Regions from separate parts of the Homo sapiens genome. Here region 1 is linked to region 2. Evidence: promoter capture Hi-C in 16 types of primary human blood cells and fetal thymus (Javierre and others, 2016). All regions are on one chromosome and are shown on one strand. Each heading gives the region's core, a stretch centred on a gene start or on the middle of the fragment in contact. The rest is flanking DNA. Distances are from core to core; before and after follow the strand shown. Region 1 holds the start of GABPA (GA binding protein transcription factor subunit alpha). Region 2 has its middle 110 kb from the start of CYYR1.

Evidence for each region. Contacts are between HindIII fragments. The CHiCAGO score rates a contact against its expected background, and 5 or more counts as called.
Region 1: a contact is called between the fragment with the promoter of GABPA here and a fragment that was not itself captured in region 2, in 3 of 17 cell types (total CD4 T cells, naive CD4 T cells and non-activated CD4 T cells). The highest score is 7.9, in total CD4 T cells.

The regions. Positions count from the first base shown.
Region 1 is chr21:25,733,615-25,737,593 of GRCh38, reverse strand. It overlaps GABPA (GA binding protein transcription factor subunit alpha), which reads right to left and starts at 2,622. Exons shown (of 10, transcript NM_002040.4): 1 at 2,016-2,622. ATP5PF (ATP synthase peripheral stalk subunit F6) reads left to right here and starts at 2,690. Exons shown (of 4, transcript NM_001003703.2): 1 at 2,690-2,741. RefSeq lists silencers at 1,629-1,838, 1,899-2,038, 2,979-3,078 and enhancers at 2,539-2,658, 2,679-2,788, 2,215-2,870, 3,189-3,268. The HindIII fragment of the contact is 6,464 bases long and covers 1,104-3,979 here.
Region 2 is chr21:26,682,240-26,685,759 of GRCh38, reverse strand. No RefSeq gene overlaps it. Among named protein-coding and RNA genes, the nearest start is that of CYYR1, 110 kb to the right of the region's middle. The HindIII fragment of the contact is 2,930 bases long and covers 159-3,088 here.

The DNA.
Region 1 (3,979 bases), core at 1,373-3,872, 950 kb after region 2:
GTTGCTACAAAGAAATTTATCCTATGATCTTTCAAAAAATTTATAGACCAATCCCTAGAAAGTGCCAAATAGAGAAAAAACAAAACAAAACAAAAACCCATGCCCTTTTGGAGAAAAAAAAAATTACTCAGTTTCTTAAATGATCTGTCAAAAAATATTACTCAGTCTCTTAAATCTTTCTTTCTCTCCTGGTTCTCTATGCTTAGTCCAGAGAAGCAAAACAGAGATTTGAGAAATAGTCCAAATCTTTCATATCAGTTTTTGAGTGAGTCTTATCTCTTTTTCTGAAACCAATTCCTCAGGCTTCTATGTCAATACTTAGGAAAACTGAGAGAAAATTACTTGCAGTTTCTCCGTCTAAGGGCTGCCCCCGCCAGAACTGCACAGAACAATTTCATATACTTTGACACTCTGGTTCTGCTGGATTAAATCCAACCTGGGGTTCGGAATGTTTCACAAGATGGGATACAAACTAAACTTGAATTTAACGAAAAATTCTGGGAACGGCTAGTGTCTTTTAAAATACAGATAGGTGTAACATTCCCTTTTGAAACTACAGATAAATTTGAGAATTGTCCTTCATTGGAGAGCATTATTACAGAGCTTAGAACATTTTGTTCCCAATATATTATAAGTGGAGTGTGGGGGTACCTGCGAGATTAACTGCACATTTTCCTAAGTTATCAAATGCTTTTCTGTGTCTGAGGAAATTAAAAGACATTTTTATTTTCAAAAATAAAGGTAGCAGTTAAGAAAAAGCAAAGCATACATATCTATGTAATATAAAAAGAGAAAGCACATACAGTGAAAGATTAACAGTTGGGACCCTCAGGTGAAGGGTATCTGCGTGTTCACTGCATGATTTTTTCCCCAATTCTTCTGTAGGTTTGGAGTTTTATATATAAAGAGTTGAGGGAAGGCTAAAGTCAACAGTTTTAATTTAGTACTCGGTCTGATGATTTGCTTCAACCTAACATCTAGCTCATGATTTAATTACTTCATTACTATACATGCCTCATGACAGATGCTCTTGTATACACAATTCAGGTAAAATTGACTTGAAGTCCACTCAGCGTCACTGTATGTCTAAAAATAAAGAAGCTTGGAAAGCCTGGATGGAACCCTGAGAGACAGGCTAGTCCCTCAAGCAGTTGCTAAAGAGTTGAGCGGTTTCTTCTGAAGTTCAAGATAACACTACCGAAGAATGTTATCACCGCCTCGTTCTACAATTCGCTCAAGTGAATCCTGCTAAATCTTTGCTCTTCTCACGAGTCAGACCTACTGCTATTAGTGGAAACTACTTATGAAATGAATTTTATTTCTAAATTTCTAATCATCTTGCAATGCAATATTAGGCATTGTCCTCTCGGTCCGCTAACCTGATCAAACTGGGGTCCCTAAATCCAAACACGCACATACAGCGTGTCTTCTAGTACACAAAAAAATTTCCAAGTAGACAACCCATTGTTATCTCCTTGGTTTACTTCCTTGCTTAAAAACAAAAAAACAAACCCAGATGGCTACCATATACGCTGATAAATGATTCTGGTGTGTGTTGTTCTATAAAGAGAGCGGATTTGAAATGAGTGAATCGCTGAGTCCCGCGATGAGACAGGGTCTGCATTTTGCTCTTAAAATCTCGGGGGCGTCAGGACCACATCCCAGCTGAGCAGGCTGAGACTGCTGAGGAGTGCGGACGGGCGAGGAGGGGACGCGGAAAGGAGGGAGCGGCGACAGGCGACCCGTCCGGCACGGGTCCCGGCGGTGCCCGGTCCCCCCGGGCTCCAGGCCGCTCGCCCCCCGCCCCTCCCCTTCGCTCCCCGCACAGCTCTCCCGCCCCTCCCCACCCGGCTCCCTCAAGTCTCCACGAACGGAAATGGGAGTCACAGCGCCGGGGACCAGCGGAAACAAAACACAGAGGCGGCCGCGGGGGGGCCCTTGTGGGGGAAAAGGCCCCGGAACGAGGCCGGCCCGCGAGGGCCCGCGCTCCCCTCCTCCCCGGCGGCCGCACTCACCCACTCCGGAATCGGCCCTGTCGCCCCCGCCCGCACTCCAGAGCCGGCTGAGAACGGCAGCGGCGAGGGCTCCACGTGCAGCGTCTCTCCGGGTAAGACCTGCAGCTCCCGCGACTAGAAGTGTGAGGTCCCAGGGCCCTTCCCGCGGAATCGGCGCTGAGAAGCCCCAACCCCCCTCCCGCCTCCCAGGCACCTTCGGGTCCAGGACTACAACTCCCGGCAGGGTGCGCAAAACGACCGCCCAAGGCAACGGAGGCTCACGAGGTACAAGGAAGCACAACGCCCCAATCCGCTTTGTTTTACACAGTCTCACTTTCCCTGCACCTTTATACACTTCGATAACCCTAACGAACAGGACGCTGACTCGGAGGGGAGCTTGAACTAGGGGAAAGGCCACTCAAAGAGCGCATGCGTACAGAGCAAGGTTTCAAGGAGGGGAAAAAGAACGGGTCAAATTAGGCGAAGAAAAGATGGCGGAGGCTGTGCCAGGGGACCCGGAAGCACTTACCCTCCACTTCCTCCTCCTGTTTGGCTTCTGTCTCACCTAGACCCGTCCGGTCGCAGACTGTCTCCGAGACGCTTCCTGTCCGGTGAGCGTCGACCGACTGAAACGGCGGCCCATAATGCATTGCGATGGCGGGTAGGCGTGTGGGGGCGGAGCCAGGGCCGGAAGTAGAGCGGAGGTGGTGGCGGCGGAGGCTTTGGCAGCTCGGGACTGAGTGCAAGGTGACTGGGAGGGTAGCTAGATCAGCGTGGCCTTTTGGGACTCCAGTTCTGGGTTTTTTCACGAGGCCTGGGCTGCCTCTCACCTTTACTAGGAGGAGAGAGCAGCTCTGTGTCCTGGGGACCTTCACGGCCTGGCCCGGGGTCACAGCTGACCTCTACGTTTGTAGACCTTGGAGTTTGCCGTAGACCCAGAAATAAGATCGATACCCTCTCTGAGGGCAAATCGGGGCGGCGCGGGGGGCAGGGAGGCCCGGGGGTCTCGGGCCCGCAGCCTGGCTGGGGCAACCCAAGGTCAGGCGCGCGGGAGAGATTTTCGGCCAGGCCTACCCGCCCCGGGCGCACGGGAGCGTCTAGGCTACTTAGGCAGAACGTGTACCATTAAGAGGGAAAAAATTAGTCATAATATTGAAAGTTTGCATCCCACCTAAAAACGATGGTGCTAACACTTCATTAGGCGACTTTATGGATTGTTCATAGGAATATGCACTGAAGAGGCAGCGAACCTACTAACCTTTGGCCGGTCAGTCATCACTATAAATAGAACCATGCTCCCACCCAGAACAAGGCCTCTGCTCAGACTAGTGTTTTCTTACTGTTGCCTTCCCCAGTCTTTCTGATCATGTCAGACGCTATCATATGCTCTCGTGGCACCCGATGGTACTGGAATAGAGAATTTATGTCAGGTGGTATTTCACAGCTATTTGTGTAATGACTATCTTCTGCGTTTTAGTGGACAATATGCATTCACTAATCAGTGAAAAAAAATGAAAGGGATTAAAGGAGAAGGAACAAGTTTTGATATGGGATTATGTGTTCGTTTTTTGGATGAGTTCGTAGGACTTATAAGGGAGATGAGAACTGTTGAATGCTGTGGATAGATTTGGGGCTCAGGATGAATACTAAAATTAGAAATGCGATTGGGGAATCATAGGCACTTACATGGTGGATAATTGAAACAATGAAAGTGGATTTTACCCGTGTTGCAGAAGGAGTAACATCTATGCAGTCAGACTTAGAGCAAATTAACTGTGAGAATACGTGCAGCTTAATCTTTCTTAGATACAGTTTTATCATCTGTAAAGCAGGGATAAGAACACTTTAACTCTTTGAGAGTATTGCTGTAAGGGTACAAGGAAAGGATATATATGGAAGTACTTTGCACAGTATCTAGGGCTAAGCAAATGTCGGGTGAACCTATTGCTGAATGTTAAGCATGTCCTTAGTTTGCCAGAAGGGAA
Region 2 (3,520 bases), core at 374-2,873:
GATTCATCCAATACTTCTTTCACCAACCCAGTGGTTCTTAAGATCCTAATTTTAGAAAACAAATCAAGAGCATATTAGTATCACTTGTAAATCACACATGGAAATTAACCATAATACAGAGTTTGAAGCTAGTTATGAACCTTTCAGCATTCTAAGCTTTGTATTTCTTATCTTTAAACACTGTATGAATTCCTCCATCATAGACCTACAGCAGATTTTATATGAGATATTGCAGGTGGAGGACCACTTCTTAGAGCCCTCCTTTAGTGGGCATGTAGTCGTTGACTGGAAAAGAAGAAAATTGGAAAGAAAGAGGGGGGATTGCTGATAGTGGAAAAGAGGTAAAGACTTCCCAGCACAGTCAAAGTAGAGGGAATGTTGAGTGAAATGACCAGGGCTTCCTCAGGCATTCTTGTCCGTGAGTGAGTGAGCAGCTGAGTGTTGGGTGAGGGGCTGGTAAAGACAGAATATACTATCCTGTCATCTTTTACTCTACTATAATAAAATGTGATTAACTATCCTGATGCATATGAAATGCTTAGAATAGTGCTGGATACATAGGCAGCCTTATGTACACGTTTGCTAAAGCTGCTATGCTTGGGCAAGAATGTAGAGAAGCTACTCTGTCATACATACACGTTATTCCTTTAGATAAGGGACATTAACATGTAAAGTTCTCTCTTCATGTATTTACATTGAGTCATTAGAATTTAAGCCACTGGAATGTACGTATAGTAATTTACATTCTAGTGACTCAGTTTAAATAAAGGGTGAATATTACTTATTATGTTTACCAAGTTTGGAGTTTGTTGATGTATCCTCAGTGCCTCTGTGATCATGTCTCACACATAGTAGATGCTCGATCATATTTACTGAATAAATTTCTAAGAAATCAAAATTTCCCAAAAATTTACCCTATTAAAATCATGCAAGTTGCTCTCTCTTCTGAAATGATAAATGTATCAGTAGGCAGGAAGACAGCAGATTGCTAAATAAATTATTGTGAATCAGAATCTGTTGAATTTGAATAATGATCCCCAAATCTTGTTGCTGAACAGAATTATCTGAAAGAAATTCATAAATACAAATTTCTGGGGCCAACATTGGAGTCTCAATCAGCAGATACATATTTTTGTTTGTCTGTTTTACTTAGTTGAAGTCAAATTTTATTTGCAATTTAGTAATCTGCCATATAAATCATACCATAAATGACTGTTAAAATACCAATTTCACAAGCATACTTTTTCATGAATAAATAATACTCCATTGAATGAATGTCATAAATTACATCACTTTTTATTTTCATTGAACACAGGTTGCTTACATTCTTCCCATCACAGTAATATGTTTAAAAGTATTTGTATTTAAATGTTTAAAAATGTTTGTGTATTTAAAGATGTATTTGTTGACAAGAGGTAAATAGAAATTTTTAACAGTATGTTGTTGCTGAGGTATTTTCACTTGTTTTTTTTTCCCCAAGGTTTTTTCCAGCTTTATCAATATGTACTTCCCCATTTGTAAACTATCCAAGCAACTTCTAAGACCTGGCAGCAACTCCCTGGCACAATATGATGCAAGGAACACTCCCAGAGGAGAGAATGAAGCAAGTCACCTAAGCCTCCTGGGGATACATTTCATAAAATATTAGATCATGTCTTAGAAAAAAGATCAAGGGTGGCCCAGATCTTTGCTTTCCCTCGAGTGGCTTACGAGCTACAACTTTACCTCTGACTTGTCTATATATACACCCAAAAAAAATTCTGTTCTGGTTTTGCTTTCAAAACGTCTCAGGTTTTCCATTATTTTCCAAAATATGCTGGTTACCCAAATGTAGGACCTCAACTTCCTACTTTGAGTACTGAGGGATAGAATTCCTTAAAACAGTCTTGATTGATCTCTAGACTTACAAACTTCTTCCCCAGACAATCTATCCTGCTGCTAATGTTAAATTTTCAAAAAGGCAAAATTATGATTCTTGTTCAAATATGAAATGAACAAGGATTAAAGTGAGGGAATTAATGGCTGAGACAATCAGTAAGATGTTAAAAGCAGTTCAAGAGAGAACAGAATATATACATATAAATGTATATGTATGGGTATATGTGTGTGTGCTGTGTATATAAAATCAGGAATGCTGAACTGCAGTTGCTAGTAAATGCAAAACTGGTTAATGTCATATAATACAATAAAATGTAAACTTTGGGCTCATCTTTTCTACAGAGAAGGAACCAATTTTTTCTCAAACAATCAAAATTTATTTGCATAGTCACAAATTTTCTACAACCTAACTTCTACCTCTACTCAGCTGCAATATAGCTCAGTCAACAGAAAAACAATCTAAGGTGCGCCTTTCTATACAACCAGATAAACTCATCATTTCACTGAAAAGACACCCAGTAATCACTACTTCACCCATCATCTCTTATAATTACTCTTTACTGCTGTTTCAGCTTTTATAATACAGCCAATGTCATGATCTTCCCTCTGCATCCACATTAATCATTCCAGAATATACCCTCCACTCAACATAGGTCAATTTTTGCCACTTCCTGCACACTTCATAATTTTTCTTCCTGCGCTATCCCAAACTTTCTTCAAAATAATTCAGCCAACCTGTGTGGTAGATGCTTGACAGATAATATGAAGAGATATATTTTCTACCTTCAGGGAATTTACAGTCTAAAATGATCTTTCTCTTTTTCCTCCATGTATTTGCCTCCTCTTGATCAGTCAGTACTCACTATTCACTCTACTCTTGCAAAAAGACTTCTCCAAGTGCACCAGTCAACACTGACTCCTTTTCAATAACTGTGTGACAAATGGATGTGGCATGTGGGCTTTGAGTCCTTGATCAGTTTACAAAAGCATTTAGGACAAAGGTTGTATTTTAGCCTTTTATTTCAAGTAACTTCTACATCTATTACTTTTTGTGTTAAAACTGATAACTGTTACTTTAGATGCAAGGATTGTGTCTAGGGACTCAATGACTTCTGCAATCTTCATGATGAAATGTTTCTGGACCACTTTTGCTATCAAACTTTCTTGATGTAGTTAATTGAGCTTATCTCAATGTATGATTCACAAAGCTTTGATTTCAGACTGACAGCTGTCACATAAATATAGACTCAAATGAGCATAAATTTGCAGGTGCTGATCTATAAAAACATCTGTACTGTGAAGCAAATCACTTATAAAACCTCAACGGAAAAAAAAATTGGAAGAGGAGGTAGGAGTAGTCATAATCCTGGTATTTGATAAAGAGACTACTATCCTTTTAATTCCTTAATTTACTAAAAGCTTCTTACTATACTGATAATCTCATTTTCTGCTACTAAGAATGAGTAGGTAAAAATTATGCATCTCTATGAGGCTGTACATTTCAAAAAAAGAGTAGGAGAAAGTACACTCCCACAGGTTAAAATATTAGCATAAAGCAATTTCACATCCTTGGTTATATTATTATGGGTTTCTACTTGTAACAGTCACACAAAAGAGCCCTCATAAACTGGATCCTGAGTAG